Linked DNA regions of Homo sapiens: all the other regions are linked to region 2. The links are contacts of gene promoters, found by promoter capture Hi-C in blood cells and fetal thymus (Javierre and others, 2016). All regions are on one chromosome and are shown on one strand. The core of a region is centred on a gene start or on the middle of the fragment in contact, and the rest is flanking DNA. Distances in the headings are between cores, read along the strand shown.

Evidence for each region. Contacts are between HindIII fragments. The CHiCAGO score rates a contact against its expected background, and 5 or more counts as called.
Region 1: a contact is called between the fragment with the promoter of GALNT4 here and the fragment with the promoter of TMPO in region 2, in 1 of 17 cell types (naive CD8 T cells). The highest score is 5.3, in naive CD8 T cells.
Region 3: the fragment with the promoter of WASHC4 here is called in contact with the fragment with the promoter of TMPO in region 2 in 1 of 17 cell types (neutrophils); the score reaches 5.4 in neutrophils.

What each region holds. Positions count from the first base shown.
Region 1 is chr12:89,523,546-89,526,987 of GRCh38, reverse strand. It overlaps GALNT4 (polypeptide N-acetylgalactosaminyltransferase 4), which reads left to right and starts at 2,192. Exons shown (of 1, transcript NM_003774.5): 1 at 2,192-3,442. The coding sequence starts at 2,439. It overlaps POC1B-DUSP6 (POC1B-DUSP6 readthrough), which reads left to right and starts at 941. Exons shown (of 11, transcript NR_189589.1): 1 at 941-1,107; 2 at 1,784-1,868. It overlaps POC1B (POC1 centriolar protein B), which reads left to right and starts at 941. Exons shown (of 12, transcript NM_172240.3): 1 at 941-1,107; 2 at 1,784-1,868. The coding sequence starts at 1,093. It overlaps POC1B-GALNT4 (POC1B-GALNT4 readthrough), which reads left to right and starts at 726. Exons shown (of 3, transcript NM_001199782.1): 1 at 726-1,107; 2 at 1,784-1,868; 3 at 3,315-3,442. The coding sequence starts at 833. It also overlaps POC1B-AS1. RefSeq lists silencers at 986-1,245, 1,796-2,175 and an enhancer at 2,266-2,475. The HindIII fragment of the contact is 3,011 bases long and covers 643-3,442 here.
Region 2 is chr12:98,513,701-98,517,233 of GRCh38, reverse strand. It overlaps TMPO (thymopoietin), which reads right to left and starts at 1,644. Exons shown (of 9, transcript NM_001032283.3): 1 at 1,088-1,644. The coding sequence starts at 1,366. TMPO-AS1 (TMPO antisense RNA 1) reads left to right here and starts at 1,008. Exons shown (of 2, transcript NR_027157.1): 1 at 1,008-1,243; 2 at 1,337-3,533. RefSeq lists a silencer at 885-1,154 and enhancers at 1,495-1,684, 1,945-2,024. The HindIII fragment of the contact is 4,246 bases long and covers 1-3,533 here.
Region 3 is chr12:105,106,396-105,110,041 of GRCh38, reverse strand. It overlaps WASHC4 (WASH complex subunit 4), which reads right to left and starts at 2,311. Exons shown (of 33, transcript NM_015275.3): 1 at 2,181-2,311. The coding sequence starts at 2,241. It overlaps LOC414300 (a long non-coding RNA gene), which reads left to right and starts at 2,400. Exons shown (of 2, transcript NR_121211.1): 1 at 2,400-3,254. RefSeq lists enhancers at 45-204, 2,043-2,202 and silencers at 1,763-2,012, 2,223-2,502. The HindIII fragment of the contact is 7,983 bases long and covers 1-3,646 here.

The DNA.
Region 1 (3,442 bases), core at 943-3,442, 9.0 Mb after region 2:
GTAGCATACCTTTCATTTGCATAAAACACATGTCTTACCAGCTGTGTTCTATCATGCCCTTTGATGTTGCTAAGGATCTTTACACTATATGTAATTTTCAGCTCAGAACATCACGCTTTGAGGCAGGGTTAAAAAAAAAAAAAGGATATGGACTTGGAATTAGAAGAACTGTCTCTGTGTGACCTCTAAGACCAATATCTAGGAATCAAGTTTATAACTTGGAAACATTGAAAACATTTTGTAATTCTACCAACTTCATTGTTTGGCTGAAGCACAAATGATACTATGTGTAACAAAGCCTGCTGTAGAAACGTGGTCTCACAAAAAACAAACAAAAAAAACCATGTTTCCAAGTCTTCCTAAAGACTTTAAGTATCCAGCTGTGTAAGTTTAGTGCTCTAAGGTATACGCAAATAAGCAGATGAGAATGGAAACATATCGCAGAAAATTATTAAGTGCATGCACAACATTTATTCATTCATTCACTCATTCATTCATCACGCACATCCAGCAACTATATCAATATCCTGCAGGGCACTGTGTGGAAAACAGTGGTTAAATAAATTCAAATCTGCCCTCAGGGGATTTAGTTCCTTTTAGTATATTAATAACTAGCAAGCTGCCCCTCTTCATGTCAAAGCTTTACGTCAACAAAATAAGCGGTAGGGGATCACCTTAAACGTCACGGGTGCTGTCTCTTTAAAACGTAATAGAACTCTGATCGCATCGATCACAGGCTCACAACGCCCTTCCATTCATCGCTCTTATTCCAGTCCTGGTTACTACCCCACTTCCTGACATCAAACCAGGGAGAACGCGAGTGTTAGTTAACATGGCTTGGTGTGTGGCCACAGCTGACCCGGCGCATACCTCCCGTCCTCTCTTTACAGGGCTGGCGGTGTCTCGGGGCTCGGCTGGCCATGCCTGGAGCGCGGGGTTTGACTGGGCCGCCGTTGTTGTAGTGACCGGGAGGCGCTGCCGCTCTGGGCAGACGGTTCCGGGAGCCGCACGGTCCCCTCTCCTTCCCCATCCTCTCCCCTCCCCTCTCCGGGTTCCCCCACCCACAGGAGCCTTGGGCCGACCACTCCCCCGATGGCCTCAGCCACGGTAAGGACGGGTTGGAGGTGGGGGGGGTCCCTCCCTGGAGCCTGTCCCGCGGGCTGCGGGGCCAGGTCCGGGCCGAAGCCGCACCTGGAGGGAGATGGAGGCAGGTGTCCGTAGCCGGGTCCTGAGCCCCTCGTCCCGGGGCGTCCGTATCTCACTCTCTGCCATCGGGGCGGACGGAGTGCGGAACCCAGACCCGGCTCCCGGACGCTCTTCCCCGAGTTCCGGAGCTCCGGACTGAGCTGGGCGGCCCCACGGCCCCCAGAATTCTCGGAGGGTTTCCGTGGAGCGCCTGCGTCAGAATCACCTAGGAAGTATTAAAAAAAAAAAAAGTACCAAAGCCGAGGCGCATCCTCGCACCTGCCTGCCTTGGGCCAGCGGGCGGGGCCCGGGAACGTGCATTTCAAAGGGGCCGCGGTTCCTGCGATGCGCTGGACTCTGGGAAGCGCGAACAGAGCGTTTTGCGGGCTCTGCGGGGAGAGCTGGCGCCGGCGTCTCCCTGTAGCAGGACTGGGCGCCGCGCCCGTGGGTGGGCTGCTGCCCGGCCCCGCCGCCCAGCCAAGCCGCCGCCTGGGTGGCCATTCCCAAGCCGGACTCCGGGGAAGTGGCAGCGTGGATCCCAGCCGCCAGAATTCGAGGTCTGCGGCGGCTTTCAAAACTTGACAACTTTCCTTTCCAGGAGGACCCCGTTCTGGAGCGTTATTTCAAAGGCCACAAAGCTGCGATCACCTCCTTGGACCTCAGCCCCAACGGCAAGCAACTTGGTAAGTCTTATTCTTGTTTTGCTTTTGTAATGAGACTAAACTCCATGGGCCGGAAACCTTTCCTCCTGTCCGGGCAGGGTCCCTAGGAGAACGGCTAAGGGCCTGTATGAGGGTTGAGAGCACCCGGAGACGAGGGCCCAGCGCGGCGGGGCGCAGCTAGGGCCCCCTCTGCCATCCCGGCCCCCAGCCCCCGGCCCGGCCAAGAGCCTCCTATCCAGCGGTCTGGGCCTGGCGGACGACTTTCGCAAACTAACCACCAGGAGGAGTGAGTGGGAAGGGGAGGGGTTTCTCCTCGGCCCGGGGAGGGTGGGGTGTTGGCTGGAGAGTTTGTGAAAAGTTGTGAGCCGAGCAGGAGGAAGTAGGGAGAGAGGAGTTGGGCTGTGCCGGAGGCCGAGGACCGAGAGGGCTCAGGTGACCCCTGGAAAGCCTGGGTGGCTGGAAAGGAGCCTAGCGCCTGCATGAAAGGAAGAACCTGCTGGGAAGTACCTGAGCTCGAGCTGTGGGTTCCGCCGCCCTTCCCCTGCGTGGTGGCTTGGTGGCCGCGTCTGCGCCTCAGCCCTGAGAATCCGGATGGCGGTGAGGTGGACTTGGGCAGGCAAGAGCTGCCTGCTGCTGGCGTTTTTAACAGTGGCCTATATCTTCGTGGAGCTCTTGGTCTCTACTTTTCATGCCTCCGCAGGAGCCGGCCGTGCCAGGGAGCTGGGGTCAAGAAGGCTCTCAGACCTCCAGAAAAATACGGAGGATTTGTCTCGACCGCTTTATAAGAAGCCCCCTGCAGATTCCCGTGCACTTGGGGAGTGGGGGAAAGCCAGCAAACTCCAGCTCAACGAGGATGAACTGAAGCAGCAAGAAGAACTCATTGAGAGATACGCCATCAATATTTACCTCAGTGACAGGATTTCCCTGCATCGACACATAGAGGATAAAAGAATGTATGAGTGTAAGTCCCAGAAGTTCAACTATAGGACACTTCCTACCACCTCTGTTATCATTGCTTTCTATAACGAAGCCTGGTCGACTTTGCTCCGTACCATTCACAGTGTTTTAGAAACTTCTCCTGCAGTTCTTTTGAAAGAGATCATCTTGGTGGATGACTTGAGTGACAGAGTTTATTTGAAGACACAACTTGAAACTTACATCAGCAATCTTGATAGAGTACGCTTGATTAGGACCAATAAGCGAGAGGGGCTGGTTAGGGCCCGTCTGATTGGGGCCACTTTCGCCACTGGGGACGTCCTCACTTTCCTGGATTGTCACTGTGAGTGTAATTCCGGTTGGCTGGAACCGCTTTTGGAAAGGATTGGGAGAGATGAAACAGCAGTTGTGTGTCCTGTTATAGACACAATTGATTGGAATACTTTTGAATTCTATATGCAGATAGGGGAGCCCATGATTGGTGGGTTTGACTGGCGTTTAACATTTCAGTGGCATTCTGTCCCCAAACAGGAAAGGGACAGGCGGATATCAAGAATTGACCCCATCAGATCACCTACCATGGCTGGAGGACTGTTTGCTGTCAGCAAGAAATATTTTCAGTACCTTGGAACGTATGACACAGGAATGGAAGTGTGGGG
Region 2 (3,533 bases), core at 395-2,894:
TGCACCAGAATGTCATGAAATAAATTTTTCCTGAATCCTAAGTCTTTCGTTTCCTCAAGCAAAATTTACCAATATGTGGGGAAAACGCAATCCAAACTGCAATTTTCAAATATTTGTTTGCAGGGCCGGGCCCGGTGGCTCACGCCTGTTATCCCAGCACTTTGTGAGGCCGAGGCGGGAGGACCACCTGAGGTCAGGAGTTCGAGACCAGCCTGACCAACTTGGAGAAACCCCGTCTCTACTAAAAAATACACAAATCAGCCGGGCGTGGCGGCGCATGCCTGTAATCCCAGCTACTCGGGAGGCTGAGGCAGGAGAATCGCTTGAACCCGGGAGGTGGAGGTTGCGGTGAGCCGAGATCTCGCCATTGCACTCCAGCCTGGGCAACAAGTGCGACACTCCATCTAAAAAAATAAATAAATAAAAACTAAAAAATTATAATAGGCGCCTAAAAATATAGTTTAAAATGCTCCTTTTAATTCGGCATGAACCTGTTCCGCCAAAAGATGGCCTGTTGCTGGGAAAAATTAAAACAAACTAGAAAACATAAACGGTTCAAAAAGCCCTCCACACGCAAAAGTATAAAAAGGCGGGAATTTCCTCATTTCAAATTTTGGTTAGAAATTAGAGTGTCATCAGTTGCCCTCCAGGGAGCGCTCTGAGACTCTGCTGCGAGTCATTTCAGTTAATAAAGCGGGAAAACGCTCGAACTTAACCTATAGCATTTTGGGGCCACCCCTCCAGAGCTTTCGAAAGGGCACGGAAGTCCCCGTCTAAACGCCCGCTGCAGGCGGCTGGTGGTCCAGGGAAGCGGCGTCGACTGCGTGCAAAACAACCGCCGCCAACGCAACTCCACACCTCCCAGACCCACACGTCAAAGAACGCGAACCCCGCGGCCCCAACTTCTGGCCTCTCCGCTCCGGCGCCTGCAGCCCCGCGGGGAAGGGGCGACGCGAGGGGGCGCAGGGACAGCCCCGCACCTGGGAGGCCCGAGGGGGCGCCCGGGAGGGAGGGGCTGCAAACGGCGGCGAGCGCGCGCGGCAACCGCCAAACGCCCGCCTTTGTAGCCCCGGCCCCGCGTCCTTACCCTGCCGACGGCTGCTCGGCTCCGGCCCGCGGCGGCGGCCCCAGAGCCGAGGACCGGGGTGGGCTCGCGCTCTTCGTCACTGGAGAAGTCCGGGGGCCCCTTGCTGTTGGTGCCGGCGGGGAGCGGCGGCCGGTTGCGAGCCGTGAGGTGCTGCAGGTAGAGCTGGACGTACACGTCTTTGCGCTGCTCCCCGGCCGGCAGCGTCACATTGTTGGCGACCAACTCACTCTTCAACTTGTCTTTTGTCAGGACCGAGGGGTCTTCCAGGAACTCCGGCATCTCGGGGATCTGCGAAGCCCCCTCCCCACAGCCTTTGCCGCCGCCGCTCACGCCGGCGCGCTTGCTCCTGGCCGGGGACCGCGCTGCCGCCTCCGAGCCTCACGGCTCCTGCCCGGGAAGAGCGCTGCGGAGCGGAACAAAAACTCGCGGACACAAAGCCAAGCCAGACCCGGACACAAAAGACCCCAGAGCCGAACTACGAACCAACTGCGGCCAAGCTGGAAGCTCGCACCAACCCCAGCCCACACACTACAGGCAGGAGGCGAGCAGCCTGCTTCGCCCACGCCCCAAGAACGCGCGCCGCCATTGGCGGGCGACGGGAGGAAGCGCGGCGGTGATTGGCGAGACGGCTCGCGCGGGTTCCATTAGCCGCCGCGCTGAGCGAGAGGAGGTAGAAACGCAGTTTAAAAGGCGCTGGGGCGGGAGCCGAGGCTCCCGGCCCGCTTCTGTTTTCGTTTTCTCCACCCTTCCCCTTAGACGCCGATAAGGGACAGGTCGTACTGCTTTTGTGCGCCGTTTCCTCTCCCTCCCCCAGCTTGAGAAGCAGCTTTCGTCTCTGGGGTCGATCGCCTACGAACGCGCCGAATTCCACGCCAGTGTGAGGACCCTTGGCTGGGCCTTTCTTCCTCCCGGGACACTGAAGCTCCAAGAGTAGCCGCAGCCTTGCCTTCCCCAAACGCTAGCCCTGAAGGGGAAGAAAAGAAGCGAGGCTTGTCTGCAGGCACTCATATTCCTTGATTTGATTTACTTTGGGAGGGGGAGGGCGGGGAGTTACCCCTCTCCTCGCGAACGCTTCTTTTGTTCCAGAAACCCAGGGGAAGCCAGACCTCTACAATCGGGCACTTAAATTACCCTTGAATTTGTGACAAAAGTGTACTATACCATTCACTTCTTAGTGTCATAGTTGGGGCATGTCTAAATTGTTTAATTTGAACAGTGCGTTCAGACGCAAGACAAATTCGCGCTTGCATTTTTGTTGAAACCGTCTCTGGCTTTGGATCCCACCACCCGCAAGAATCCTAAACCTAACGTTTGATAACAAAACGAAGGAGAACCCTTGGGAACCCCCTCAATGGTCAATTTAAAATAACAGATGGTGCATAATCCTAAAGGAAGACTAGTGACCTATAATTAGGCCTAGAACCCTAATCAAACCCGTATTACCGATCCAAATTAAAACCTGGTAGAATCTAATACATTGACTGCAATTAAAATGTTTGCCTGGAAATTAGTATCACTGATGACAAATATTTGTATTTCTGATGAATATGTATGTTTAAAGATGCTTTCTTTCTAGAAAGGAAAGGAGACCTTGGATGTAGGGTGTGTTAATCATTTCCCCAGAATCTGAGCTCCAAACTATGTTTTAGAAACTGGTTAAATTTTTTTTAAATGTTTGCCTGCTTTCTACATTGCTAGGTTAGAATACATTTAAAACAAACGCCTTCACTAAAAATGTTTCCTATGATTTAAGCGACTTACTTTTATTCAAATTGCGATATTATTTCTTTTAGTGATAATTATTTTCCTAGAGGTAACTAATTCCTTTATAAAAATCTCAGTATTCACATACATTTAAGCAATGGTATTAAGCTCAATAATGCAAATTAAAAATCAGGTTTTAATTAGCAAGTTGTTAGGTAGGTTTTTATGATCCCTTGTAAAAGTTGCTTGGTTTTTTGTCCTCACAGCTTCCCTGGACACATAGGCAAATGTTTTTATCTTCAGAAGGGGAACTGAGCTGAGAGGCAAAGGACCATGACTTTGCAATGACTGGTAACCCAGTACGTATAATGCAAGAACTGCATTCTAGATACGCCTGAAATTAATGTTTCCTGGGCAAAAACATTTTCATTATCTTTTTTTTAATCCCTGGACATTAGCTACAGGTGGTTACTTGCAGATTTACTGCTGTAGAGCTCCAAAATTGAGATTACACTTTTCAGATTCTGCGTACCCTAAGGCTAAGAGGTTGGGCTATTGAGTTTGGGTGGTCTCTTTGGTCCTGATTGCTACTTCCAAACCATTTCTGCTCTTTTCTGCTTCAAAAATATTTGAAGTTCATATCTTCTGGCTAAATCACTTTCTACTCTCCTTCCTGCCATCATCCACGAGCCTCCTGGTCACTTTCCAGAAATTATAGAGCTGCTTGCCGTAGGTTTTCCTC
Region 3 (3,646 bases), core at 1,062-3,561, 6.6 Mb before region 2:
AGGTGTTCTCTTCCCTACAGCTTACATATAAGACTGCCCAGATTCTCAGAACCCCAAATAGTTGTCTTATTCTCAACTACACAGGAAATGACCAGTCAAAGCTGCATTTGACCAGCAAATGACTTCTTAAAGACAATGCTAGGCCGGGCATGGTGGCTCACCCCAACACTTTAGGAGGCCAAGGCCGGTGGGTCGCTTGAGACCAGGAGTTCAACATGGCAAAACCTTGTCTCTATCCCAATTTAAAAAGAAAAAATCAGCCAGCTACTAAGGAGGCTGAGGTAGGAAGATCACCTGAGCTCAGCTGGTCGAGGCTGCAGTGAGCCGTGGCGATGCCACGGCACTGGGCGACAGAGTGAGACCTTGTCTCGAAAAAAAAAAAAAAAAAAAAAGACAATGCTAGAGAAACACCACGCCAATAAATCACTCCTTTAGTATGTTCAGGGATTCACAAACAGGAAACAGAAAACCTAAAATAACATTAAAAGTTCCTTGCTGACAATAAACGGTTGTAAAATTGGTGAAAGTTAAAATAACAAAAGTTGAGATAAGAACTACATGGTAATTTTTTAAGAGTAAAAATTCCAAAAACCTACTTAACATGCTCATCTTTGTCAACAGACTGCACTCCTTGTTTTATCTTTTTATCCCTAATATCTAGCACAGCCACTGGTTGTAGAAAATATCTGTTGAGTGAATCAGACCATTCTACTCCAGGCTGAACCATTTTCAAACTCAATTAACATAACTCTATTCCAATTTTTTTTGAAGATACCAGTTCGTCATCTTTGTCCATAAAACATATATGACAAGGTACAGTTCACTTTATAACAATACAGAATCCCCTCCACAAAAAAAAATTAAAAGATTTTGTCATTATCTCCAAGGTTAATTTTTATGCTGCATAAGAGCTAATACCTTATTATCACCCAGGCTAGAGTGCAATGGCGCGATCTCGGCTCACTGCAACCTCCGCCTGCCGGGTTCAAGCGATTCTCCTGCCTCAGCCTCCCAAGTAGCTGGAATTACAGGCGCTCGCCACCAAGCCCAGCTATTTATTTTTTAGTAGAGACGGGGTTTCACCATGTTAGCCAGGCTGGTCTTGAACTCCTGACCTCAGGAATGTTTTGTGAAAAACTGCAACCCATCCTGGATGTAGCTCACTCTTCTCTGAGAGACTTGTAAAACCTAATTCATCTAACATTGTAGGCATTAGTCTCTCTTCGTAAATCAAGCAAAATTCATCCGGAATTTTTAAAAGCAACGTTCCACCTTTTGGGAAAACTATGAGGGAAAAAAAAAATCACAAACAGCATGCTCCAATCTCTCTTAGATCACTTACACAGATTACTATGACCAAAGATAAGAAGCAGATTGCCAACTTGTATTTATTTCAAGTAGAGTTTCACTACAATTAATTTGGCCTCAATATTTTACTGAAAGAAACACAATTTGTTTATTTCGGGATAGACTTCTAAGTTAAAATCAGACAATTCGATCTTGTGAAGCAAAATTTGAAGATTTGCTGTAATTTTTGAAGCCTTTATAACTGCGATGGAAACTGCAGAACATCACTGAAAAATATCACTTAGCATAAATAAAAGGCCTGGAAAATGATAAAATGACATTCACGTGTTTATTTTCGCAGGGTGAAAAGTTCTTTTTTCGCTCCCTTCTACGGTTATAGCAACGCGATGGGAAAGACACCCAAACTTGCAAAAGTTGATTTGGGAGGAAAAGAAGAAAAACAGGAAACCGAAACAGGAACCCAGACATCAGCGTCCTCCAGAGCTGAACGCTCAGAATCTGGCGAAATCCCCAAGAGGCCAGAGACAGAAGCAGCCTGGGATCCCGGGGCCGCTGGGCCTCCCGGGCGCGCCCCGCCCAAGCCCCGGGGCAGCTGAAGGGGGACGCCGCTCCCCGCGGGGCACCGCAGGCTCCCCAGGAGAGTCTCCGCCTCACACGCCGAGCCCTGAACGGGCAGCCTGACCCGCCGTGGCTGGGACCCCAACCCCGAAAGTAACGCTGGAGAGCGCGTCCCTCGCACACCCCAAGGGCTCTGAAGTGTCCCGCACCAGACGGCTGCGCAGCCGTCCCTCTCGCAGGAGCGCTGCCCAGCCCAGAACAGCGGCGGGCCGAAGGAGCGTCCACCCGCAGCCCTCGCCCTGCAGCTCCCTTACTCTGCGAGCCGTCGTCAACGCGGTCAAACTCCCAGTCCGGGGACAGAGTCTCCACCGCCATCACCCCGGCGCCTCCCACAGACACAGCCCCAACCAGCCCGTGCGGCGACGACGGCCTCACCCCAGCTACTGTCACAGCACGTGACTTCCGGCCCCGGCCCCGCCTCCGCTCGCGAGGGCCGGCCGGGCTCGTTGCCCCTGCGACCGCGGGGGCCCCTGGGAAAGCGAGTCCTCCGCCGTGGCCGAAGGCGGCCGCCATGGCGCCGGCAGTGCCAGCGGGCGTCTTGCGACCCGGCTCGGGCTTCGCCACCATTCACTGTGCTTCTCAAGCCACTTCGGCACTCTAATTTCGCCCTGCTCTCTCTAGACGATTTTTAATACCTGGGAAAGTTACTCCCCAGTCTAACCTAAAAAGGTAGAATTGATGGGGTGGGGAATTAACAGGAAGGCATGATCCTCGAGGATAACGCTGACCAGGCGCTTCTTCCAACAAGCCTGTTTCCCTCTCTGTCGCCACCGTAGGAGTTCCTACAGCTCTCCCGCACATTCTGTACGGATTGTTTTTTAGTCAAGACGTTCTGTGCGAGAGGAGAAGTTACTTTATGAACACCCTAACAGGGGATCTTACGACCTCTTCCCCGCTCTCCACTCAGTCCTTTTAAAAACGCGAGGCAGGATGAAGAACGCTATTGAAGTACATTCTAAAATGATCCCACCTGCAATTTGGATTTTTGGAGAATCGGGATCGGTGTAAAATTCTACATGCATACACGTATTTGCACAAGAATATTTATAGCAACGTGGTTTTTAATAGGAAACTATCTAAATGTTCATTACAAGTGAATTACATAAAGCTCAATACATCCATACTACGAATCACTGAAGAGCTGCTAAAATAGATGAAATATATTTATAATGGCATGAACAACCGACACAAGACAGTTGCAGAGTAATGTGTATTTGTGATTACATTTATGTTTTTAAGTTATACAAACGCGTATGTGCCTACGTGTATGTAAATTCATAGGAAGACAAATCAGAGGACGGTGGTTACCTGGGGAAAAGCATGTGTTGGTGAGTAACAGGATTTTCAAGTTTTGATGTGTCTACTTATGTGTTTTGAATCCTTAACAATGAGAATTTATTAGGGTTTTACTCTTGTAATCTTAAAAAGTACCGAAAAGAACTAATCAATGTAGGCAAAAGGTCTATTGAAGAGCATTCTTCTGAGGTCATTGGATCTGCCCTGAGTTAAATGTTTATTGAGTGCCCACTGGGTACCAGGCACCAGGCTAGATGCAGAAACTATAAAACATGTAAGAAAATTGCTTTCTGACCCTATGGCAGACTTAGTGGGCATTTCAGAAAGAAAAAAAAAATCTTGAAAAGAACAGGCATCCTTAGGGTCTAATGGCTGACAAACTTTTTTCCTGTACTTTCTGTGTGACCATGAGTTTGACTTTCCT